2 separate regions of the Homo sapiens genome follow, and region 1 is linked to region 2. Evidence: promoter capture Hi-C in human tissues and cell types (Jung and others, 2019). All regions are on one chromosome and are shown on one strand. Each heading gives the region's core, a stretch centred on a gene start or on the middle of the fragment in contact. The rest is flanking DNA. Distances are from core to core; before and after follow the strand shown.

Region 1 (2,700 bases), core at 110-2,609, 340 kb after region 2:
CACAGGCATGCACCACCACGCCTGGCTAATTTTTTAAACTTTTTGTAGAAATAGGGTTGCCTTATGTTGCCCAGGCTGGTCTTGAACTCCCCAGCTCAAGTGATCCTCCCGCCTCGGCCTCGTGCTGGGTTTTTGAGCAGACCAGCCATTAAAGGGGAAGCTGGCTTACAGGACCAAGCTCTGATGGGCTGCTCCAGGCTCAGAGCTTCTTATGTCCTTCCAGCATTCCCTACGATGAAGGAGTCCCACTTAGAGTGAGTGACCCAGAAGAGAAGTGGACCCAGGATACTCCCTGGCCTGGGAAGATGCCTCTACAGCTTGAGACACAGGCACCAGTGGCTCAGGCCTGAGGACAGAGACCCAGGTAGGTATGCCAGCTGAGGCCTGCCCAGGAGGGAGGGTGGGAGACCCGCAGAGGGCCAAGGCAAGTCTCGGATTGGGGGCCTGTCTGGGGAGGGTGTTTGCACCCTGAACACCTCCCTGGAACCTAGAGGGTACTACTGGCCAGCCCTGAGATGGGCTCCCAGGGCTAGAACCCAGGCTAAGGCCTGGTCTCACCTCCCATGTGGACAGACCAAATGAAGACAGAGTGACCAGATCCCAGCTGGAAACACAGCAGAGGCAGGGGGACAGGGCTGCGGGAGCCAGGAGAGCAGCTGGAGGAGGTGTCCAGCCAGGGGAAGGAGGAGAGGAGAGCAAGAGGCAGAGGGAGCTGGTCACTAGATGGGGATCTGGGGACACAGGAGAAAGTGGCTTTGTTCTGCAGCAGGCAGGCCAGGCCAGACTGTCCCGAGGGACCAGAGGAGGAGCCAGCAGCAGTGGGGACAGAAAGGCCTCTGTGAGTGGGAAGCGCCCAGCTGGCTGGAGCCTACGATCCTCTTGGGGCCCTCCTGGTGGAAGAGAAGGGGGCCGCAGGGTCACCTGTGCTTGCGGCCAGGGAACTAGAGGGGAAAAGTGGGATCTTTGGAGGGGGTGCCCCCCCCCATTCTTACCCCACGAGGCTACCTGGAGACAGGTTTTTTTGTAGGGTGCCAGGCCCCGCCCCTTGGAGAGGTGGCCGGGGCAGCCAGCCACAGCTGGATCCGAGAAAGCGCCTGGCCGCGGCAGGAGGTTTGGTGGGGCTGGGGCGGGGCAGAAAGGAAGGTCTGCGAGGCCAGAGTGGAGCAGGAGCTGGGGGATCCGGTTCCGCCTGCCCAGGGCCTCCGCGCGCCTCCCAGGGCCACTCGGCAAGAAAAAAAAAAAAAAAATCAAACCTCCTCTCAGCCTATCAGAGAGCAGATGGGACGGGCTCGGCCAATGGCCGCGGCGCATGTTAATGAGGGCTGACGCCGCGAGGAGGGCCCCATTCAAAAGTAGTCGCTATTGTCGCCGTGGGCTGAGCTCGCCGGGCCGGCCCCTCCGTGGGGCCGCGCTGGGACGCACGCGGGTGGACGAGGGGACCGATCCCGGGCGCCCATGGCCGGGGCCGCCATGGCCGAGCGGGGCCGCGTGCCTCCCCCCGCACCCGCGCCCAGCACGGAGGGGCTGCCGCGCGCCTTCCTGCAGAGCCTGCGCACCCTGTTCGACATCCTGGACGACCGGCGGCGCGGCTGCGTGCACCTGCGCGAGATCGAGTCCCGCTGGCAGGGCACCGACGCGCGGGAGCTGCCCCGCGGGGTGCTGGAGGGCTTGCGCCAGGTGGCCCCGGCCAGCGGCTACCTGACCTTCGAGCGCTTCGTGGCCGGCCTGCGCACCTCCCTGCTGAGCGCCGACGGCGGCCCCCGGGACCCCACGCGCGCCCCGGCCCGGCCCGGGGATCAGCCGCCGCCGCCGCCGCAGCGCCTGGTGTTCGCTCCGGCCGACGAGCCGCGGACGGTCCTGGAGAGGAAGCCCCTGCCCCTGGGCGTGCGCGCCCCTCTGGCCGGTCCCAGCGCCGCCGCCCGCAGCCCGGAGCAGCTGTGCGCCCCGGCTGAGGCGGCGCCCTGCCCCGCGGAGCCCGAGCGGTCCCAGAGCGCGGCGCTGGAACCGAGCTCCAGCGCGGACGCAGGTGAGTTCCGGACGGCCCCCGGGCACCCTCGTAGCTCTCCCGGGCCCGGGCCAGAAACCGCAGTCCCACAGCTGCTGCCCGTGCATTTCCCACAAGGGACGGGACCGGGGAGCGGCTCTTCGTGGACTCCGGATCCTGGAGGGCGCCTCGGCGGGTCTGGAGGGAAAGGGCTTCATGCTTGTCGCGGTGAGCCCAGGGGCTTGCTTAGGGAGGCAAGCCAGACCCTCTCCTGCCACAGCATAAGGCCACCAGGGCCGGGGGGTGGCAGGTGACTCAGAAAACCCACCGGGAGCCCAACCTGTACCAAGCCTGAGCTTGGGCTCTCCATCTCCAATACCCTTTCCGCACCTGGGGACACCTGGGCCCTCAGCCTCCTGTCTGTGGCTGCTCAGGCAGAAGTGCTTCCTTCTCAAAGAAAGGGTCCCCCTTCTCAGTGTGACAGCTTAGCCAGGGGGGCTGGGCCCACTGACCCCACTGAGGCCTAGGCAGGCGGGGGCTGCTGCTGGTGGCCCAAGAGGACCTGGCCCTGTTGCCAAGATGGGCAGGGGCGTGGGTGGATCTCCTGCACCCCAGTGGGGCTGTACTATGGCAGATGCCATGGAGGGACATAGGCCGTAGTCCCTGGGGATGGCTGGCACACTCCTCTCCTGCCTTCCGGTCCAGTTGGCAGTGAT
Region 2 (2,700 bases), core at 43-2,542:
AGCTGGACCTGGGGGTGCCCGGCCTGATGGGAAGGTGGCAGAGGCTGTGTGACATGGAGATAGGTCGTGAGGGCCCCAAGTCCGCCCCTTTGTCCCTGTGGGTCCCTCACTCTGGGAACCTCGGGCTGCTGAGGACTGAGACGTGCAGTGCCCTCCCCCTGGTGGAGCGGCCACCCAGCCAGCCACCGCAGAATTCTTGGCCCTCAGGCACTGCAGAAGAGCGAAAGCCCTGGCTGTGGGTCCCAGGTGTGGCTGGCAGTGGCCGGCGGCAGGCAGAGGCCCTGTCACCATGGGTGAGGTGTGGAGGTGCTAAGGCTAAGATCCCATCCTAGTTTTAACCTTCAAAAATATCATTCATGGTTTTTTCTTTGTTCATGAATACAAACCAGGGTGTATACATTGTGTAGTATTCAGAAAATACAAAACAGAAAGCACAGAGGCACCGTCGGCAGAGCAGCCAGGCCCTCACACGTGCATCTGCCTGGTTTTGAGAAGGGACCTTGCACCGTGCAGCGTGATCCCCTTAGGGCAACGCGACTTTATGCTGCTCTGTGAACCCTTTCCCATGCCATTAAGTATTTTTATAAAACATGGTTTTTAAATGCTGTTTATCATTCATCAGATTCTACCTTGTGTGATCAGAACTGGGGTCCTTGGGAAAGCCCACCCTTGATGGGGGACTGTTGGCCCCAGCCCCGTCTGTGATGGTGACCCCAACATGTGCTGTTGGCACCTCCCAGAAAGGGTTCCCCAGAGCCCATGGGCCACCTGACCCGTCCTTGCAGCTGTCCCATGGTACATCCATGTGTTGTGGGCAGTGAGCTGCAGGGAGGTGGGGTGCACAGAGAAGCTTGCCGCAGAGCTAAAACCAACACGGTGAACAGGGAAGGTGTCCTTCAAAACCGCAGCCTGGGCAGGAGCAGTGGCTCCTGCCTGTAATCCCAGCACTTTAGGAGACCGAGGCAGGCTGATCACCTGAGGTCAGGAATTCGAGACCAGCCTGGCGAACATGGAGAGACCCTGTCTCTACTAAAATTACAAAAATTAGCTGTGCATGCCTGTAATCCCAGCCACTCAGGAGGCTGAGGCAGGAAAACGGTTTGAACCCGGGAGGCGGAGGTTGCAGTCAGCTGAGATCGCCCCACTGCACTCCAGCCTGGGCAACAGAGCAAGACTCCATCTCAAAAAACAGAAAAAAAAAAAACAAACCTGTGACAGGCCCAGCGCAGTGGCTCACGCCTGTAATCCCAGCATTTTGAGAGGCCGAGGTGGGCGGATTGCTTGTGGTCAGGAGTTCAAGACCATCCTGGCCAACATGATGAAACCGCGTCTCTACTAAAAATACAAAAATTAGCTGGGCGTGGTGGCAGGCACCTGTAATCCCAGCTACTCGGGAGGCTGAGGCAGGAGAATCACTTGAACCCTGGAGGCAAAGCTTGCAGTGAGCCGAGATCGCCCCCCTGCACTCCAGCTTGGGCGACAAAGTGAGATTCCGTCTCAGCCTGGACAACAGAGCGAGACTCCATCTCAAAAACATAAAAACAAACATACAAAGAAACCCTGCGACCTACGTGGAGCCCACGGGGGCCAAACATGCCAGCACCCCCCTGGAGTGGCGGTGTGGGACCCCACACCTGTCACACCTGCTGGCCTCCTTCTCCATCTCCTGTGCAATATCCCTGGAAAGTTACTTTTTGTGTTTAAAATTGGTCATGTTAATTGTTAAGGAAAGGAACAATCCTTAAGTTAAATTGGTAAGTTTAAAAAAACGAAAGACAGACCGCAACAGGCGTTGGTGAGGCTGTGGAGAAATCAGAACCCTCGTGTGTTATCGATGCTAGCGTAAAATGGCACGTCCACTGTGGAAACAGTCTGGTAGTTCCTCAAAAAGCTAAACATAGAAACACCGAGACTCAGCAGCTCCAGTCCTAGGAATGTGTGTCCCCAGATCAGTGAAAACACACTCCACACAGAAACATGCACACAGCTGTTCACAGCAGCACTGTTTATAACAGCCAGACAAGGGGGTGCGGCCCGAATGTCTGCTGGACAAACAGCCCGTGGTCTGTGCACACAGTGGGGCAGGACTCAGCCACGGAAAGGCAGTTCCAGCACATGCTGCTGCAGGGATGAGTTTTGAAGACACCATGCCAAGTGAGGTCAGTCAGCCACAAGAGAACAGAACCTTGGCCGGGCGCGGTGGCTCACGCCTGTAATCCCAGCACTTTGGGAGGCCAAGGGAGGTGGATCACGAGGTCAGGAGATCGAGACCATCCTGGCTAACACACAGTGAAACCCCGTCTCTACTAAAAATACAAAAATTAGCCGGGCGTGGTGGCGGACGCCTGTAGTCCCAGCTACTCGGGAGGCTGAGGCAGGAGAATGGCGTAAACCCGGGAGGCAGAGCTTGCAGTGAGCCGAGATGGCACCACTGCACTCCAGCCTGAGCAACAGAGTGAGACTCCGTCTCAAAAAAAAAAAAAAAGAAAAAAAAAACAACAGAACCTGTGTGGTCTCCTTTATAGGAAATGCCCAAAATAGAAAGATTCACAGAGACACAAAATGGCCAGGGGCTGAGGAGGGGCAGAGGGAGTAATTGTTGATGGGCACATGGTTGGTTGTCTTTGGGGCAATGAAAATGTTCTGGGCTGAGGCAAGTGGATCACGTGAGGTCAGGAGTTCAAGACCAGCCTGGCCAAA

Evidence for each region. The method cuts DNA at HindIII sites, captures the fragments that hold promoters and counts their contacts. A contact is called where the count stands out against the background at its distance.
Region 1: the fragment with the promoter of SAPCD2 here is called in contact with a fragment that was not itself captured in region 2 in 2 of the 25 tissues and cell types used here (dorsolateral prefrontal cortex and spleen).

Annotation. Positions count from the first base shown.
Region 1 is chr9:137,069,216-137,071,915 of GRCh38, reverse strand. SAPCD2 (suppressor APC domain containing 2) reads left to right here and starts at 1,359. Exons shown (of 6, transcript NM_178448.4): 1 at 1,359-2,026. The coding sequence starts at 1,456. RefSeq lists an enhancer at 218-1,197 and silencers at 1,302-1,711, 1,882-1,931, 1,982-2,031. The HindIII fragment of the contact is 19,800 bases long and covers 1-2,100 here.
Region 2 is chr9:137,413,705-137,416,404 of GRCh38, reverse strand. The region is part of intron 1 of EXD3 (exonuclease 3'-5' domain containing 3); the gene reads left to right. Among named protein-coding and RNA genes, the nearest start is that of EXD3, 8.1 kb to the left of the region's middle. The HindIII fragment of the contact is 3,762 bases long and covers 1-2,700 here.